Linked DNA regions of Homo sapiens: region 1 is linked to region 2. The links are contacts of gene promoters, found by promoter capture Hi-C in human tissues and cell types (Jung and others, 2019). All regions are on one chromosome and are shown on one strand. Each heading gives the region's core, a stretch centred on a gene start or on the middle of the fragment in contact. The rest is flanking DNA. Distances are from core to core; before and after follow the strand shown.

What was found. Contacts are between HindIII fragments. The study calls those that stand out against the background at their distance.
Region 1: a contact is called between a fragment that was not itself captured here and the fragment with the promoter of MVD in region 2, in 1 of the 25 tissues and cell types used here (dorsolateral prefrontal cortex).

What each region holds. Positions count from the first base shown.
Region 1 is chr16:89,236,638-89,241,591 of GRCh38, forward strand. ZNF778 (zinc finger protein 778) reads left to right here. Exons shown (of 7, transcript NM_001201407.2): 7 at 1-504. Among named protein-coding and RNA genes, the nearest start is that of ZNF778, 21 kb to the left of the region's middle. RefSeq lists a silencer at 4,391-4,480. The HindIII fragment of the contact is 4,092 bases long and covers 924-4,954 here.
Region 2 is chr16:88,659,775-88,664,481 of GRCh38, forward strand. MVD (mevalonate diphosphate decarboxylase) reads right to left here and starts at 3,317. Exons shown (of 10, transcript NM_002461.3): 1 at 3,237-3,317. The coding sequence starts at 3,306. SNAI3-AS1 (SNAI3 antisense RNA 1) reads left to right here and starts at 3,599. Exons shown (of 4, transcript NR_024399.1): 1 at 3,599-3,626. RefSeq lists silencers at 3,062-3,481, 3,822-3,981 and an enhancer at 3,562-3,611. The HindIII fragment of the contact is 7,255 bases long and covers 1-4,707 here.

The DNA of each region.
Region 1 (4,954 bases), core at 1,720-4,219, 580 kb after region 2:
ATATTTAATACATAAGACAACTACAACATGAAGGTGAGGGGCAACGTGGCTGGACGGCGTGGAGGTTCCGTGCTCCATTTCAGTGGCAAAATACCATTCCAGAAGGACTGGAAAAGCTAAGTCTGTATATTTTAATTACTAAAGAAGTGTACAGCTGGGTGTGGTGGCTCACGCCTGTAATCCCACCACTTTGGGAGAGTGAGGTGGGTGGATCACTTGAGGTCAGGAGTTTGAGACCAGCTTGGCCAACATGGTGAAACCCCATCTCTACTAAGAAATACAAAAATTAGCTGTGTGTGGTTGGGGGCACCTGTAATCTCAGCTTCTCAGGAGGCTGAGGCAGGAGAATCACTTGAACCCAGGAGGTGGAGGTTGCAGTCAGTCGAGATTGTGCCACGGCACTCCAGCCTGGGTGACAGAGCAAGACTCTGTCTAAAAAAAAAAAGGACAATGAGATATACTAAAATGGTCCAATATGTTAATTAAAACATACTACTAAAAAAAGTGTTAAATAGCCTGAAAGAATTGTGATAAAGGGGAAACTGAGTACTGGGAACAAAAGAGAACAAGTAGGTAACGAAGTGGTGGCCAGGTGCGGTGGCTCAGGCCTGTCATCCCAGCACTGTGGGAGACCGAGGCGGGCGGATCACTTGAGGTCAGGAGTCAGACCAGTCTGGCCAACATAGTGAAATCCCGTCTCTACTAAAAATACAAAGTTAGCCAGGGGTGATGGTGGGAGCCTATAATTCGAGCTACGTGGGAGGCTGAGGTAGGAGAATCACTTGAACCGGGGAGGTGGAGGTGGCAGTGAGCTGAGATCGCGCCACTGTACTCCAGCCTGGGTGACAGCAAGACTCTGTCTAAAATAAAAAATAAAAAATAACTGGTAGAGCTGAATCCTAGATAATCAAACACATTAGTGCACATGATCAGCTGGGCACTCACGCCTGTAATCCCAGCACTTTGGGAGGCCGAGGCGGGTGGATCACTTGAGGTCAGGAGTTCCAGACCAGCCTGGCCAACACGGTAAAACCTTGTCTCTACTAAAAATACAAAAATTAGCCAGGTTTGGTGGCTCATGCCTGTGGTCGCAGCTACTCAGGAACCTGAGGCAGGAGAATCATTTGAACCCAGGAGGTGGAGGTTGCAATGAGCCAAGATCGTGCCACTGCACTCCAGACTGGGCAACAGAGCAAGACTTCATCTCAAAAAAAAAATATGATCTACACATGCTATTTAAAGATAGGACAGATAAAAAGTGTGACGCATCAGTATGTCATCTACAAGACACTTCAAATACAATGACGTAAATAGGTTAATAGTACCATGTAAACATAATAAAGTGGAGAGGCTGTATTTAACATCAGAAAAAATGACTTCAGCACAAAGAAAATTACCACAGGGTGTTGAGTGCAGTGGCTGATGCCTGTAATCCCAACACTTTGGGAGGCTGAGGTGGCTGGCTCACTTAAGGCCAGCAGTTCAAGACCAGCCTGGGCAACATGGCGAAACCCTGTCTGTACTAAAAATACAAAATTAGCCGGGCATGGTGGCAGGCACCTGTGATCCCAGCTACTTGGGAGGCTGAGGCAGGAGAATCTCTTGAACCCGGGAGGTGGAGGTTGCAATGAGCCGAGATAGCGCCATTGCACTCCAGCCTGGGCAACAAGAGCAAAACTCCATCTCATAAATAAAAGTTAAAAGCAAAATGTGATAAAAGACCACAAAAATGAAAAATTACAGTGTTAATTATATTGATTCAAATTAGTTATGTTAAATATTAGCAAATAATACAAAACCACATTGAGAAAATAATAAACCATGACCAAGTGGAATTTAAGACTGCAACTGGTTCAATTAGAAAGCCTATTAAATACTACACCATATGAATCCATCTAAGAAGATAAGGCATGTGATTGTATCCATAGGTGTTGATGAAGCCTTTGGGAAAATGTGGTACCTACTATTGATAGACGCACTCAAAATAGGAATTGGTGAATACTTTCTTAGGACGCCTGTGTCTGTAGCTATATGTGTGTGTGTGTGTACTGGAAGTGTTACCTAATGCAATTGGGCAAAACAGATTTGCAAAAAAGTGAACTATCTCTTGTGTGCATTATATGATATACATGGAAAGCCCTGTAGAATCAGTAAAAACATTTAGTAAGTTAGAGGAGGTGAAGTTGCCGTCAAAACATAGATGGTCTTCATCTACACAACCAATAACCAGTGAGGTGATATGATAGTAGAGAAAACTTATTTATAATAGCAATAAAACAATGCTTAGAAATAAATTTATCAAGAAATGTATAAAACCTAAATGAGGAAACTTTTTGTTTGTTTGTTTGTTTGAGACAGAGTCTCGCTCTGTCATCCAGGCTGGAGTGCAGTGGCATGATCTCGGCTCACTGCAACCTCCACCTCCTGGGTTCAAGTGATTCTCCTGCCTCAGCCTCCCAAGTAGCTGGTATTACAGGTACCTGCCACCACGCCCGGCTAATTTTTGTATTTTTAGTAGAGACGGGATTTCACCATGTTGGCCTGGCTGGTCTCAAACTCCTGACCTCATGATCTGTCCGTCTCGGCCTCCCAAAATGCTGGGGTTACAGGCGTGAGCCACCGGGCCGTGCCCGGCCATGAGGAAACTTTAAAACACTTTTTTTTTTTAGATGGGGATTTGCTCTGTCCCACAGGCTGCAGTGCAGTGGTGTGATCACAGCTCACTGCAGCCTCGACCTCCAGGGCTCAAGCGATCCTTCCTCCTCATCCTCTCAAGTAGCTGAGACTACAGGTGCACACCACCACACCAGGCTAATTAAAAACTTCTAGGCCAGGCGCGATGGCTCACGCCTGCAATCCCAGCACTTTGGGAGGCTGAGGCGGGTGGATCACGAGGTCAGGAGATCGAGACCATCCTGGCTAACATGGTGAAACCCCATCTCTATGAAAAATACAAAAAGTTAGCCAGGTGTGGTGGCGGGCGCCTGTAGTCCCAGCTGCTTAGGAGGCTGAGACAGGAGAATGGTGTGAACTCAGGAGGTGGAGCTTGCAGTGAGCCAAGATCACACCACTGCACTCCAGCCTGGGTGGCAGAGCAAGACTGTCTCAAAAAAAAAAAAAAAAAAAAAAAAAAAAAAAAAAAACCACATAGACTTGAACAAACGGGCAAATTCCTTGTTCTTTGATGGGATGACAACATCATAAAAATCCCATTCTTAATTCAGAAATGAAACATAATCCCAGTTACAACAGCACCAAAAGCTTTTTGTGGAGTTAATGCAGATTGACGCTGAAGTTCATGTGGGGGCACAGACGTCTGATGGTGCCCAAGAAACCCAGGAGACAAAACTGATGCTTCCCTGTGGACACTGCAGCATCCTCTAAAGCCGCTGTAATTAAGGTATGTGACACATGACCAGGAAGCAGACAGATGGACAAAAATGGAATATCTGGAAATAGACCTAGCAACATGGAAATTTAGTTAATAAAGTGGGTATTTCAGATCAGTGGGGCAAAAATGCAGTTTGTAATGAAAGGTGCTAGGACAACTGGTGAGCTGTCTGAACAAGATGGTTTTACATGTATAAATTACACCGTTCAGGTCGAGTGTGGCGGCTCACGCCTGTAATCCTAGCACTTTGGGAGGCCAAGGGGGGGCAGATCAGTTGAGATCAGGAGTTCGAGACCAGCCTGGCCAACATGGTGAAACCCCATCTCGGGCAGGCGCAGTGGCTCGCGCCTGTGATCCCAGCACTTTGGGAGGCCGAGGCAGGCGGATCACGAGGTCAGGAGATCGAGACCATCCTTGTTAACACAGTGAAACCCCGTCTCTACTAAAAATACAAAAAAATTAGCCGGGCGTGGTGGCGGGCGCCTGTAGTCCCAGCTACTCGGGAGGCTGAGCCAGGAGAATGGCGTGAACCCGGGAGGCGGAGCTTGCAGCGAGCCGAGATCGCGCCACTGCACTCCAGCCTGGGCAGCAGTGAGACTCCATCTCAAAAGAAAAGAAAAGAAAAGAAAAACCCCATCTGTACTAAAAATACGAAAGTTAGCCAGGCATGGTGGTGCGGGCCTGTAATCCCAGCTACTCAGGGGGCTGAGGCAGGAGAATTGGTTGAGCCCGGGAGGTGGAGCTTGCAGTGAGCCGAGATGGCGCCACTGCACTCCAGCCTGGGTGACAGAGCGAGACCCCGCCTTCCCCCCGCCCCCCAAAAAATTACACCGTTCACAGGAATAAGCTGCAAATGGATCAGGGATCTAAATGTGGACAAAACGTGCACACGTGGGTGATGTGAATGGTTTCGGGGCGATTGGGAAGAGGGCCTGGCCAGCAGGGGGCGGTAGCGCAGGCAGACCGGGTTCCGCGGTGCCTCGCCGGCTTCGGGGTGGGGGTCACCGCTCAGAAGGGGAGGAGAGCGAGGGACTTCCGGGGGGAAGGGAGGAGAGCGAGGGACTTCCGGGGGGAAGGGAGGAGAGCGAGGGACTTCCGGGGGGAAGGGAGGAGAGCGAGGGACTTCCGGGGGGAAGGGAGGAGAGCGAGGGACTTCCGGGGGGAAGGGAGGAGAGCGAGGGACTTCCGGGGGGAAGGGAGGAGAGCGAGGGACTTCCGGGGGGAAGGGAGGAGAGCGAGGGACTTCCGGGGGTAAGGGACTCGGTGAGGAACTCGGGGGATCGGAGAGGGGCTCGTGTGCTGGGCGACAGTGACACACTCAGCAGCCCGGCGGGAGCCGCGGTCGGTACCGTCTGAAGGGCAGCCGGGGCTGGGGGACCGACAGCTCTCAGGTGTCGGTTTTTCTGTGGCTAGCGGATGTTTGGCACCATTTCACAGGGCACACAGGGCAGACGGGACCTAGATGACGACAGATCTGCGTGTTTGGGCTCTGTTTGAAACAGACCTCAGCCAGAGTCTTGAAGAGCAGAACCCGGAGTGTTGAAGTCACAAGAGATCAACATC
Region 2 (4,707 bases), core at 2,067-4,566:
GACCAATATGGTGAAACCCCATCTCTACTAAAAATACAAAAATTAGCCAGGCTGTAGTGACGCACGCCTGTTATCCCAGCTACTCAGGAGGCTGAGGCGGGAAAATCGCTTGAACCTGGGAGGCGGAGGTTGCACTGAGCCGAGATGGCACCACTGCACTCCAGCCTTACTCCAGCCTGGCAACAGAGGGAGACCCTTTCTCAAAAAAAAAAAAAAAGAAAAGAAAAAAAGAAACAGATCCCTCCCACACTCCAGGCTGGAACAGTGCCCCGCCCCCTTTCCCTCCCTGAAGGAGTGGGGACTTTCACCTCCCCAGGAGTCATTGGAGAGCACACGGGAGACTGGACTCCCCTGACCTGCCGGCTCTTGTCAGAGGCCAAGCAGACACTCAGGAATTCCTGAGGGCCTGGTGGGGATGGGACAGCGTTGGTGGGGAGGGGAACCTGGACTTCTGCCTCCTTATCTTGAGCCAGCACCCCCTCCTCCACCAGCGCGCTATCAAAAACCAGCTCAAACGTAAGGTTTAAAGAAGACCAGAGTCTCTGAACGTTACAAGAAAATGGACACGTTTCCATAAATATCACTGTTGGTGAGCCTCAGTGGCTCACACCTACGATCCCAGCACTTTGGGAGGCCGAAGCAGGCAGATCACTTGAGGTCAGGAGTTTAAGACCAGCCTGGCCAATATGGCAAAACCCCGTCTCCACTAAAAGTACAAAAATTAGCCAGGTGTGGTGGCGCACACCTGTAGTCCCAGCTACTCGAGAGGCTGAGGCAGGAGAATCGGTTGAACCCGGGAAGCGGAGGTTGCAGTGAGCCGAGATCACGCCATTGCACTCCAGCCTGGGTGTCGCAGTGACAGTCTGTCTCAAAAAAATAAATATAAAAGTAATACAAATAAATATAAAAATATAAATATAAAATAAATAAATATAAAAAATAAAAATAAAAGGCCAGACGCGGTGGCTCACACCTGTAATCCCAGCACTTTGGGAGGCTGAGGTGGGCAGATCACGAGGTCAGGAGCTTCAGACCAGCCTGGCTAACACGGTGAAACCCCATCTCTACTAAAAATACAAAAATTAGCCAAGTGTGGTGGCACGTGCATGTAGTCCCAAATACTCAGAAGACTAAGGCAGGAGAATTGCTTGAACCCAGGAGGCGGAGGTTACAGTGAGCCAAGATTGTGCCACTGCACTCCAGCCTGGGTGACAGAGCAAGACTCTGTCTCAAAAAAAAAAAAAAAAAAAAAAAAAATAGCAGAAGAGAAAATCCAGAAATAGACCCACACAAACATGCCCAGCTGATTTTTTTTTTTACAAAAGTGCAAAAGCAATTCAATAGAGGAAGGATAGCCTTTCTGGGCTAACTGGACAACCTTGGATCACAGACTTAAATATAAAAGGCAATCCTGTACAACTTGGAGGAAAGCAGACAATCTTCAGGACATAGGGCTAAGCAAAGAGGTCTTAGACTTGACATCAACATTGATACACTGAACTTCTTTAAAATGAAAAACTGGCTCTTTGTTAAGAGGACAAAAAGATTAGCTAGTTTGGGAGACAATACCTGCAAACCACATGTCCAACAGGAGACTAATATCTAGAATACATATTTTATTTTTTTTCAGTAGAGACGGGGGTTTCACCATGTTGGCCAAGCTGGTCTCAAACTCCTGACCTCAGGTGATCCGCCCACCTCAGCCTCCCCAAGTGCTGGGATTACAGGCTTGAGCCAGCGTGCCCAGCCTAGAATGTGTAATGAACTCTCCAAACTTATAGTAAAAAAGCAAACCATCCAGTTCGAGCGTGGACACAGAATATGAAGAGAGATTTCACCAAGAAAACCCACAGATGGCAAATAAGCACAAAGAAAGATGCTCCACGTCACTGGCCAACAGGGAAACGCGAATGAGGACCACAGCACCCTGCCAGCACATCCCTACCAGGACGCGGCTAAAATGAAAAACAGCAACTCCACCAAATGCTGGTGAGGATGCGGAAAATCTGCATCACCGTAGGGATGCAAAATGGCCCAGCCACTCTGAAAAACAATTAGACAGTTTCTTTAAAAAAAAAAAGTATATATATAATATATATATGTATATATACACACACATACATCTATATAGGTGTATACATATACACACACATATATCTATACAGGTGTATATATATATACACACACACAAACATACATATATACATAGAAAGAGAGAGAGAGACAGAGAGGCATATATATATATCTACCATCTGACCCAGCAACCGCACTCCTGGGCATTTATCCCAGAAGAATGGAAATGTATGTTCACACAAAAACCTGTATACAACATTTTATGGCAGCTTTATTGGTAAGGGAAACACAAAAAAATTAGCCAGTCGTGGTGGCGGCTTCTGGAAAGAAAAGAAAGAAAGAAAGAAAACGTTAGATGCTCTTTGCGGGGTGAGGCCTTGGCTAGAGAGAGGGTGGTCCATGGATTCCACGGACTGGCTCAGCAACAGAGGGGCAAAGCACTGATACAATCCCGGGGCACGTCCACATTCTATGCTGAATGAAATAAGCCAAACTCAAAAGATACTGGGTGGGCCACATAACTGCGATTCCAGTTTCAGAACATTTTGAAATGACGTTACAGAAATGAGTGGTCAGTGGCGGCCAGGTAACCCCGGCGCGAGGGGAGGGGCGGGGCTGTGAACGCACAGGTGCGGACCGGCCTCCCCGGCACGGATGTGGGCCTGCGGGCCCCCCATTACCGCTCCTTGGAGGTTACCGCTGGGAGAAACGGGGCGAGGGAGGGACACAGGGTCTCGGGCTGGGGGAGCAGTGGCGCGATTTCCGCTCACTGCAGCCTCGACCTCCCGGGCTCTGGCCATCCTCCCGCCTCAGCCTCCCGAGTAGCTGGAGCCACAAACGCGCACCACCACGGCGGATTCTTACGATTCATGGGAATCGATGATTGATGATTTCGATAGTTCGGTAATCGCTAATGGGCAGGCGCCGGGCGACCCTGCAGGGGCGGCAGCCGTCGCGGGGGAACGGGTGGCGCCGAGCTTGTCACGCGAAGGAGCGCGCGGCCCCGCCCGACCACCGCCGCGCCCCTCCCTGAGCCTCAGTTTCCCCGTCTGTCGAGGCCCTGGGAGGGCAGGACGGAGCGCGCCGCCGAATCAGCGCGCGACCCCCGCGTACCCGGCCTCGCTCCCGGCCATCCCCGTCCCAGGCCGGCCCGCGGCACTCACAGTACTTGATGACCGCGATGTTGACCGGCGCTGTACAAGTGACTGCCGCCAGCGGCTTCTCCGAGGCCATGGTCCCACCGCGCAGTGACCCCAGCTCCACAGCCACTTACGGCCCGCGATCCCACCCCAGAGGCCTCTGCCTCCTCACGCGCTACCACAGGATTGGCCCGTGCGAGCCCGGCTGCTCGCGCGCCGACCAATCAGCGGCGAGTCGGGCGCACGCATTACCTCTCAGCCAATGGACGGGATCGGACGATGGGTTGCTGACGTAGGTCCGCCCCACCCGCAGGGTGCGCTCGCCAGGCCTGGGGCGTGGTGTTGTCTGCGCAGGCGCCGTGTGCCCAGGCGCCTGGCGTCCGCGTCGGCGATCCGGGGTCTGGGCGCGGCGAGGTGGGCGCTGTTGCCTGTGGGGGCTACCTGTCTGCTGGTGCTGTGCGGGCTTGTGCGGGGCTGTGCGGCAGCTGTGTGGGGCCCGTGAGGAGCTGTGCGGGGGGCTGTGCGAAGGGCTGTGTGAGGCGCTGTGCTGGGGGCTGTGCGGAGACCTTGAGGCGCTGTGCGGGGTCCGTGAGGCTCTGTGTGGGGCGCCGTGTGGGAGACTCTGCGGGGGCCGTAAAGGGTCCGTGAGGCGCTGTGTGCGGGTTGTGAGGCGCTGTGCGGGGACCATGAAGGGGCCGTGGGGCGCTGTGCGGGTGCCGTGGGGCGCTGTGTGGGAGGGAGGCTGTGCGGGGCCGTGGGACGGTGTGCGGGGCTGAGGGGAGGGCGGGTCGCGCTGTGCCCTCCTTGAAGCTCTTGGACGGCCCCGCTGGGTATGGGGGTGCACACAGGCCCGAGGGCAGGCGCTGGAGGATGTATCCCGGGATCCACTCTTAACCCGGCAGCCGAAGGCACCCTGTCCCGCCGCCCACAGCCTTCTCCGCGCCATGTCCTGGGCCAGGATCCCCCGCCACGGGGCTCACACGAAAGACCCCGGGGCGGGGAAGCCCCGCAGCCCGGAGCTGGGTCCAACCTGCATTAAGGTGGGCGTCTCAAATACCCCCTGTAAGGCCCTGTAGGAGCAAAGCCTTGGACTGGGTTGCGGCGCTTGTGTGTGCATTGACTTCTCCTGTGAAACGTACAGGAACATTTAAGCGTGCCGTTCCCTGCCATTCATTCCAATCATGTGCCACGCCCCCACTATTTCTAGAGTTTTCTCACCCCAAACAGAAACTCTGTCCCCTTAAAACAATGACTTCCCATTTTCCCCTTCCCCTTTTAAAATTTTACCTTTAGTTTTTAAATAGCTCAGATTGGCTGGGCATGGTGGCTCACACCTGTAATCCCAGCACTTTGGGAGGCCGAGGTGGGCGGATCACGAGGTCAGGAGTTTGAGACCAGCCTGGCCAACATGGTGAAACCCTGTCTCTACTAAAAATACAATAATTAGGTGGGCGTGTGGTGCACGCCTGTAATCCCAGCTACTGGGGAGGCTGAG